Linked DNA regions of Homo sapiens: region 1 is linked to region 2. The links are contacts of gene promoters, found by promoter capture Hi-C in human tissues and cell types (Jung and others, 2019). All regions are on one chromosome and are shown on one strand. Each heading gives the region's core, a stretch centred on a gene start or on the middle of the fragment in contact. The rest is flanking DNA. Distances are from core to core; before and after follow the strand shown.

Evidence for each region. Contacts are between HindIII fragments. The study calls those that stand out against the background at their distance.
Region 1: a fragment that was not itself captured here is called in contact with the fragment with the promoter of PRLHR in region 2 in 3 of the 25 tissues and cell types used here (hippocampus, spleen and thymus).

What each region holds. Positions count from the first base shown.
Region 1 is chr10:118,763,350-118,768,495 of GRCh38, forward strand. No RefSeq gene overlaps it. Among named protein-coding and RNA genes, the nearest start is that of CACUL1, 11 kb to the left of the region's middle. The HindIII fragment of the contact is 5,691 bases long and covers 800-5,146 here.
Region 2 is chr10:118,592,072-118,597,057 of GRCh38, forward strand. It overlaps PRLHR (prolactin releasing hormone receptor), which reads right to left and starts at 3,577. Exons shown (of 2, transcript NM_004248.3): 1 at 3,445-3,577; 2 at 1-3,179. The coding sequence starts at 3,173. The coding sequence ends at 2,061. RefSeq lists enhancers at 2,536-3,344, 3,345-4,153, 4,154-4,962. The HindIII fragment of the contact is 7,132 bases long and covers 1-4,986 here.

The sequences.
Region 1 (5,146 bases), core at 2,395-4,894, 170 kb after region 2:
ATCAGATGCATGTAAGGGGAGGAAAGTTCAGTGAGCAATGGAAATGATGAATCAGCCATAGACTCCAAGCTGAATAAGAAAGTAAAGACAGATGGAGCAGATGGGTAGAGAGAAGGTAGAGTTTTTCATGGATGAGAGGTGTCCATGGGGTTGAAGAGCTATTGGAAGGGACATCTGTCCTTAAGCAAGAAACTAGCAGGATGGGTCATAACCCAACAGTAGGCTGAATTCATGATTTCAAAGGTATTGCAGTTGCTGCTGGTGACAAGACCTACAGTGGGAATAGCAGACATTGACCTTTGTTTTTGTTTGGCTGTCAAGTGCCTGATTTGCTTCCTATTTGTACACATTCACATTTGTTTGCTTTGGTGCAGGAAGCCAAAGGGTGCCAGACATTCCCTCTCCCCATACGCCACCATCAAGAGCAAGGGCACACATGCTGTGCTCAGCCAACCAGATCTTTCTGCCAAGGTATTTGAGTCTGAAGAGAGTAACACAAAACCATGGGAATCACTGGAAATGATTAATGACATCTGCAGAGTTCAGGTTTCACAGTAAGGGCAGGACTAGAGGCAATGGGTTAACCAAGCTGCCCCTCTGGTGTGACCTCAGCTGTATTCTCAACTGCCCAGATTTCCTTGCTTTCTGTCTGTGTTCTAGGCCAGTTTCCTCAAACTTCTTGTTGATTCTGTGAGCTACTCAACGTCCTTCCAATAAATTCCTCTCCTACTTTAGTTAACTGGCATTGGTTTCTGTTGTTTGCAAACAGAAACATAGACAGGTATAGTGGGACCTTGGGAGTGGTTGGCCAAGATGCAGTGGAAGCGAAAGTCCCTGGGCAGGAGGAGACCTCACCTCAAAAGGGGCCATTGCCATGGGCCCCACATTTTAAAGGGCTCTGTATATGCCCTTTGTATGCTACACACAGTAAATTTACCAAGGGTATACAGGCATTGGTATTCTGTGCTCAGAGCTGGCGCAGCGTAACCACACCCTACACATTCACTCTCGTGCCTCACAACACGCAACTCCCATTAAGTGCTTCTCTGCACTCTTGGTCCTCAGATCAGAAAGCAACCACATCTGGAGGCCATGAAGGTTTCTGGGTGGTGTCATACAAATGAGAGAAACTGCTTCAGAGTGCAGAGAGGATCTGAACAACAGAAGCACTTAACTGAGAGAGAAAACTAACTTCTCAAATCCTTTCCAGTTGGCATTGATGCAATAGATTCTTGCACAGCAAAGTATCATTTCCCAGTTGCACCAAGTGACCATTTTTGTGTTCTCATGCAGGGTCCTGGAGCTACTCGCTGCGTTAAAGCAATTTAATTTAGACAAGATAGATGAGACGTACTGGAAGAGTTCAGTGAAACAATAAATGATGTTCAAATATGAGTGAATGGTGGTCTTTAGTGGAAAATGAAATTACTTTCGTATTTGCACTATCCACAGTTACTTGGTGTGAACTGTCACTTACTAGAGAAAACTAGAGTTAAGTTTGTCTATTTTACTTTTTGAATGATTAATTTTTTTAATTTTTAAAGAAAATTTAAAAGGAAACAAACATGTTTGTATGACCATGAAGAAAATTAATGTATGATTTTCCAAAAATTTCCTTTAATTTCTTTGGAGATTATTTTTGGCCATTTTAGATCAGGATACAATCTGGAAAAAGATTTTAATAAATTGAATAACATGCTTCTGTTGTCAATTTTCTTATTACATCCCAGCATTAAAGAATTTGAAAGGAAAATACTTAAAAGTACTGTATTGATCTTGATGTTGCTTAGAGATAGTGAAACTCATATTACTGGTAGAAATTCGTATAACGAGGCCTGGCGCGGTGGCTCACGTCTGTAATCCCAGCACTTTGGGAGGCCAAGGCAGGCGGATCACAAGGTCAGGAGATCGAGACCATCCTGGCTAACATGGTGAAACCCCATCTCTACTAAAAATACAAAAAATTAGCCAGGCGTGGTGGCAGGCACCTGTAGTCCCAGCTACTCAGGAGGCTGAGGCAGGAGAATGGCGTGAACCTGGGAGGCGGAGCTTGCAGTGAGCCGAGATTGCGCCACTGCACTCCAGCCTGGGCAACAGAGCGAGACTTCGTCTCAAAAAAAAAAAAAAAAAAAAGAAATTTATATAATGAAATTAAAATATTTTTACTATTTTCTGTGACAGTGATTGATTATATACAGCCTAACCCCATTAAAATGTTTGAGCATGATATATTAAATTTATAGTTCATTTCCCATCTAAGTATGGCTTTAAGAACTTAATTGATAATTCCAGTTGCTCTGACCTCAGCAGAACATAGTTTCTGCATTTTCAAATTAATGAAAAACACCCTAAGAACCATAATGTCCCCAGAAAGGTTGCCTAATTTGTCATTACTCTCAATAGAACACAAATTATGTAAAAGTCTTGATTATAACAACATAATTGGTAATTTACTTAAAAGAAGGCAAGAAAATTAACTTTCATAAAATACATATAATTTATGAATTATGTATTTTTTTATTACTCATCCACATGTTGCCAGTCCATCAAAAGAACACCCAGACATACACAATAATAGTTCCATTCAGTCATCCTTGTTATTTTACCATAGCTTTACATACATTTTTTATTTTGTTATCATCTGAAGGTATGTTTGTCAAGGAAGGAGGATAGGAAGTGTGTTACTTAGCAGTTAGCTGTATGTATAACATTTAAATATTTAGACATACAAATGAGTCATTTTGCACTCTTGCTGCAAATGTTAGAATTAGGCCTGGTGAGGAGGCCAGGGAGGTAAGAGGCCAGAGGACTGGAAGGGCCATCCGTGGGGATGTTAATGTTTCCCTCAAGACAATGAATGATGACAGGAGCTGGCATGGAGATTAAGGCCATCCAGGAACAAAAAAGAGGAGGTTGGCCGGGCGCGGTGGCTCATGCCTGTAATCCCGCACTTTGGGAGGCCAAGGTGAGCAGATTACTTGAGATCAGGAGTTCAAGACCAGCCTGGCCAACATGGCGAAACCCCATGCCTACCAAAAAATACAAAAACTAGCTGGGTGTGATGGCACGCGCCTGTAATCCCAGCTACTCGTGAGGCTGAGGCAGGAGAATTGTTTGAATCCTGGAGGCAGAGGTTGCAGTGGGCTGAGATCGCACCACTGCACTCTAGCCCAGGAGACGGAGTGAGACTCTATCTGAAAAAAAAAAAAAGAGAGAGAGAGAGGGCGGGGTTGATAATGACCAGGAGATTGCTTCTATGAGCAGGTGAGGTGGAAAACTTCAATGGTGGGAGCCTCAGCGGAAAGGGAAGGGAAGGATTGAAATGGAAGCAGTGTGGGAACAAGGAAGACACCAACACCACCTCCCTATCAGAGGAATATGGGACATGAGAAAACAGTGTGCCCTTCAGAGGTCACAAGGGACGCAGTGCTCAGAGAATAGCTCAGGTTAAGGCAAGAACCTGCAGGGAATATTTCAAGCAAAAAATACATCAAAGAATGTGCTGCCGGGCGCAGTGGCTCATGCCTGTAATTCCAGCACTTTGCGAGGCCGAGGCAGGTGGATCACCTGAGGTCAGGAGTTCAAGACCAGCCTGACCAACATGGTGAAACCCTGTCTCTACCAAACATACAAAAATTAGCTGGGTGTGGTGGCGCACGCCTGTAATCCCAGCTACTCGGGAAGCTGAGGCAGGAGAATCGCTTGAACCCGGGAGGCAGAGGTTGCAATGAGCCGAGATTGCGCCATTGCACTCCAGGCTGGGCAACAAGAGGGAAAGTTCATCTCAGGAAAAAAAAAAAAAAAAAAAAAAACTCAGAGGTGTATTAAAAGTCATTGCTTGTACTTTGGGTGATGAAACAACATCGAGTGGTCCAGGGTGTCCAATCCCAATGGAGTCTTAGAGGAAGAGGGTACCTGGGCCTAACACAGTTTAGCTGTGGCCTGCAAGGGAGGCCCTTCCTGGCACTGAAATGTAGGACTGGATCTCCACTGTCAGCCATCACTGCCAGGTGCCATAGGCAGATCTGATGTTGGCAGCTGTGAGCAACAAGACACCTGGTTATTCGATCTTGGCACCAACACTCTCAATGGATTAACCCTGGGTAGAGGCCAGGGTGCCTTTTGAAGGCCACAGTAATCATCCAGGAGGAGTTGGTATCTATCTTGTCATATTTAAGAGGCAGCAGATACAAATGAGTCTCCACTTCACTTGTTTCACACACAGTCAGCTCTTTCATACATCATACCTCAAATTGCCTTTCATACTCTAAACCCAAACATCAGCTTTGGCACGGGGGTGCCTGCTGCTAGTCCACAGGTCAGTTTTGGCAGCAATCCTTTACGTATCTGGTCAATATTATATGTTTATAAAAATTGCATGTTTTGCCTCATTACTTCATAAAAATGAGTAGAAAATGGAAAACTGGATGATCTGATACCAGTGATTAAGAAAAAAAGCTATAAAGTTAATCCAATTTAGACACAGATAGAAACCATTAGGAGGAGGCAAGCAGGCATTCTAATCTCTATCCATCATTCATGGGACTTCAGCCAGTCATTCACGTGTTTAATTGCAACGTAAAGAACAAAATTAAGTTCAAAAGGCAACAAAGTACTATCAAGGACTGTTGGAAAGGACAATTGTAATTGAGGATTTTATAATATTTTTAGCTTTATGAGAACCGTTCAGTTGTCCCAACATTTTGAGAGGCATGTTTTGTAAGGAAACAGAGGCCTTCCTGTGCAGTCATCAGAGATTCAGTATCTCCGAGGTGAGAGTTTAAGCATCATCCTCAAGGTTTGAAAATGGGAAGGTCATTGACGTGGTTGTATAATTCTAAGTCAGGGAAGGCATCTGATAGCTGTTGTAAAGCGACTGGGTGCCTGGCCCATACCAGGGGCTTTTTCATCCGGCCTGGGCTGCCTTTCCTCTAGACTAGAACTCCCCTTAAAACCAGTGCTGAGGAGCCTGAGGGTGAGGATGGCCACAGCATTATACAGCTTTTCCATGTGGAAAAGAGCACCATGCCTAATAACACAGTCATGTGTTACTTAATGATGGTAATGCATTCTGAGAAAGGGGTTGTTAGGCAATTTTGTTGTTGTGGGAACATCATAGAGTATACAAACCTCAACAGCACAGCCT
Region 2 (4,986 bases), core at 2,327-4,826:
GTCCAGGCACCATCTCAAATCAACTAGACTCTTGGGAGGAGAGCCCAGACATCAATTACAAAAAGAAAAAAAAGTTCCCCAGGTGATTCTAGGAGCAGCCAGGGTTGAGAACCAGTGATTCAAACCTTCCAACAAAGAGCCGACGATGAATCAGATCCCTCCCCAAATAATCCCTCTCCTTCCCCTCTACCATCTACACTCTCCACACATGACCATCAAAGGAACTCTCTGAGGAAATGAGAAATGTCTGGCCCTGAGCCTCCCAAGTAATATAGCTGCTGGAAGCACAGGAGCCAGTCCTCGGGATGCCTGGGAGATGAGCTTATCTGGGGCAGGGGTGGGTTGCACTATTAGCACACAGGTTCTTTGTTCTCCAATCCACGGATGAAGCTCAAGTTCATTTAGCACCATTGCCAGAGGTAACCTCCATACCCATCTTTGCCTGCCTTTTCCTTTCTCCCAAGCCAGCCTTTCCTACCCTTTACTGTGTGCAAAAAGTCTAGCCCTGTAACTACTAAAGATTCCTATGCCAACCAGCCCAACCGTGATCACTCCCACTCCCACCATGGTTGTTGACATGAATGTAATAGGATTGAACCCTTGTCATTCCCATATCATCCCTCTTTCCTTTCCTTTTAGGGCACATTTTAATGAATGAATTGAGCTTATTTCTGAATAAGAGAAGCAGGAGGAGGTGAAACAGTGATTCTTGTGTTCAGTGAGCTGGGAAAGTAGTTGAACCCTACAGATGGTGACTGAGTTACTGGGAACACAGAGGCTGATCTGACAGCTGGATATTATGTATCATTTCCCAAGACTCCTGCCCTCACTGCCCAAGTTGCTTTTCCAACAGTGTGGAGACCTTTGTCCCAAGGCACTTGTCCTCATTTACAGAACTCACAGGAGGTTAAGGTGATGATTATCAGCCTGGTATCATGCTCCACAGTCTTCACCTTTTCCCTTAACCCTGGAGGTAATTAGTGTTTGATCTACACATCATGTGGGTGGTAGCTTATTCTTCTGTTCTGTCCTTAAGTAAACTTCTGCCGGTCCTTGATTTCTGGGTTGATCATGTTCCAAGAATCACTACAGAGCAGGTGCTGAGCAGTCAGATGACAGCTGTTGATCTGTTGCAAGTGAGCAATTAGAGACTGCAGGAGAATGCCACGCTACACAGTTTACATTGAGTATTCAGAAAACCAAATATTTGAGTGCCCACTTTGTGGCAAACACTGAATGTGTACCCACACATACACACACATACACAAACACACATACACAGAGGATGTCTGTCCTTAGGTACAATTGAATGACCTCTTAAGTGAATTGGACCTTTTCCTCTTTATTTATCTATCTCTTCATTGACTAATTCGTCTCATCATTTTTAAATAGTAGTTGGGGAGGAAAGGGGAGAAACAATAGCAAGACCTTTCTAAAGGGAGCTTGTAGGTGTTTTTGTACTATAAACTCAAGTGGTTTTAAAACGAAACCCTTTTGGCATATAAAGGTCTTACTCAGGAAATGCTGAAATCCTAGATGTAGAGTTTTAATACATATTTACCTGAAATTCTAGGAATGCAAGGGTTCAAATGGACTAAGCAATATCATGGTACTCTCAGCTGGGTCCTTTTTCTAAAGGCAAACTGAAAATCTTTACCAAGCCCAATGCATTCCTTTTAAATCCCATTCATATTGTTCATTTCACCAACGAGCAGGAGGAGGGGACGCCAGGAAGGCAATCGTGGTTCTGAAATACTTTTCTGAACGTGGAGAAAAAGTTTTGTTTGTCCTTCAAGGGCATAAAGAAGAAATAAGAAATCCTCTTCCCTCTCTTTGGCCTCCCCCAAGCAAAGAGCAAGACTCTCACCAAAGCCCGCTTAACATTTTACAAACACACAAGGACAAGACAGACAGCCGGACAAGAGGGCTGGGCTGGAAATGTTGCCCTATGTTGGCTTAGCTAGCTCTGGTGCTGAGAATAAGCACCAGATTGACCTCGAGTGGTGCCCTAGGAGGCCAGTTGAAGTGGAGCTCCTTGACCAAGGCCTGGCTAAGTGGCATCAGATGACCACGCTGACGGTCATATTCTGGCCATGGGGGGCTATCTTGCGGGGCCAAGCGACCAACAGTTTGCGCAGCTCCTCGCGGAAGCTGTCGTGCAGCCAGGCGTAGATGAAGGGGTTGTAGCAGGCCGAACTCATGGCGAGCCAGTGGCAGAGCAGCTGCACCAGCCCAAAGGCGTAAGGGTCGATGGCGTGGGGGTCGAGGTCCCGCAGCAGGTTGAAGACGTGCAGCGGCAGCCAGCAGACGGCGAACACCACCACGATCACCACCAGCAAGCAGAAGGTGCGCCGGCGCCGAGCGCGGTCCCAGTCGGCCTGGCTCTGGGTCACGCAGCCCGGCACCACGCGGTTGCGGAGCTTCACTGACACCCGGACGTAAGACAGGAGGATGACCAGCAGAGGGAGCAGGTAGGTGACCAGCAGCAGCCCCCAGGCGTAGAGCTGGCGCTGGCGCTCCTGGGAGCCCCAGAACTCCTCGCAGAGGCGCACGTCGTGCGGCTTGAGCTCCACGTGATAGGTGTGCACGGCGGCGGGCAGCGCCAGCACCGCGGACAGCGCCCAGATGGCCAGCACAGCGTAGGCGCTGAGGCGCAGCGAGATGCGCCGCCTCAGCGGGTGCACCAGCACGACGTAGCGGTCCACTGCGATGGTGGTGAGCGTGAACACCGACACATAGACGGTGACCGGCTGCAGGAAGAAGACCAGGTGGCACAGGCCGCCGCCGAACACCCAGCCGCGTGGCTCGAAGGCATAGGCCAGCGTGAGCGGCACGCAGGCGGTGCACATGAGCACGTCGGACAAGGCCAGGTTGCCGATGAGGAAGTTCGTCACGTTGTGCAGCCGGCGCACCCGCGCGATCACCAGCACCAGCAGGCAGTTGCCCACCAGCCCCACGACCACCACGACGCTGTAGAGCAGCACGATCAGCCCCTTCAGCTGATGCACCAGCTGCAGGCTCTGGAAGGGCGTGACGGCTGGAGCGTCCGCGCCAGCCACCGACCCGTTGCCCGCCGAGGCCTCTGCGCTCTGGTTGGCGGGAGTTGTGACCGCCGGCGGCAGCCCAGAAAATAAGTCAGAAACCCTGGGGCCCCGAGTGGTCGATGAGGCCATGGCCACCTGTTCAAAGGTAATCAAAGTCCGTCACTTCCCTTGCCATACTCCATCCGACCTCCTACACCAGCCGCGCCCCTCCCCCATCGCCTGAGTCCTCCCTTGGGAATAACCGGCCACAGAACAACAGCAAAAGTAGCAAAAAGTGTTGTCCTCTCACCTCTGTAAAATAAACCTAAGCACGGTTAGAACATACGGTTTATTTAAACGCTTCCGCCTCTATTTACGGTCCTCGCAGTCCACGCAGGCAGACTCAGGAGCGCGATCCTACCTGGGAGTGGGGTTTGGAGAGCGGGAAAGCACTCGCGGGAAGAAGGGGCAGAATTTCTGCTGGCCCTCGGTAGTCCTCTGCCCACGTCGGTGATCCGGTCTCGCTTCTCCGCGGGAGCTGAACGGATCCAAATGTTTCCCAGTGGGCTAGCAGCTTCTTAGAGGGACTGGGAGCGCCTCCCCTCAGCTCCGCCCCCCACTCCAGCTCCCATGTATGGAAAATAGGGGTGGAGCGCGCTCTGCCATGCTCGGTGCTTAGAGAACTAGTGAAGAGGACAGTGTGGGGAGGATGGAATCCGAAACGGGAGGAGGGGCCGGCAAACCTGGCCAGAGCAGCGAAGAGGACGAATCTCTACTGCAGGAGCTTGCACGGCCCCTGGAGGGTCAGGGTCCGGAGGAGCGCACAGTGGAGGAGGGCGGAGGAGAGGCGCGAAGCGTCAGGCTATCGGGAGGAGCCGGTGCAGTCTTAGGAGGGAAGGAGCGGGGAAGGAAGTAGCGGTGGGAGATTGCAATGCAGCTGGGGGCTTGAGAGAGGCACGACTGACCCGTTCTTAAAGGCTGGATCCTGCCTAGCGGCCAGGTTGCGGAGGGCAGAGACGCTAGAGGGCTCGGGCTGGGATTTAACAGCAGAGCCTGGAGCTGGTCGCGGACCTGAGGACCCTCACCCTCCCGTGGCCCCGCCACACGAGCCCCCTGCTTGGCTGCAGCGCGCTCAGCGGGCAGCGGGTCCGGCCAAGCCAAAGGCAGGAGTCAGCACCACGGACAGCTTCCGCTGGATCTGCCGCCCCTCGGGCGGATGATGTGGGGAGGAGCAGGGGAAAATGACTAGGGAATTCCTGCCCCTCTCTGGATCCGGGTGTTTGGGGAAGGAACCTGGTCCGGTTCAAAGACCTGCCTCGCTGCCTGCTTTCTGGGCTGGGGCTGAGAAGAGTAGGGTGGAGTGGAGGCAGCTGAGCCGGGGGCCTGGGGGTCGGAGACTCATGACTTTTGCTCCTCTTGGTGGTCACCGCACTCAGTGCCAAGGACGGCGTCGTCTTTTACCTCCCGGGGTCAGAAAATGCAGCTCTCCTGCCAGTTATTCTACACAGGCACACTTCAGTCTGGCCCAGCGACTCCCCGGCTCACCCTTTCTCTCGCTTTCTTTCTCGGCTACCGCGACCTGTGCCGTATCTGGCTGCTTCTCCCAGCACAGAGTAGTTCCTGGACTGAGACTTGACCCCTCCCTCCTTGACTGAACACCCACAGGCCTCTTCTCTTCATTTTAGGATTTTTTAAAAATACTGGTAATTGCAGATTTCAGCTAGGGTAACAAAAGTAACAAACATTTGAGAAGCTTAGGCGTTTCATAAAATCTTCAGTAGTATTAAGTCCTCATTGAAATGCAAATTAGCCTGGCCCACGGGGCAAGAGCCAGGGGAGGAGGGGCCTTTGTAAGCTCCCTCCTTAGAAGCTATCTCATTCCCTCAGCCTCTTGTTTCCTTTTTCCAGAGCATGGAGCTTCATTGTCTCCTCTCTGATAAGTCCTTGTACTTTGTCCTCTGGC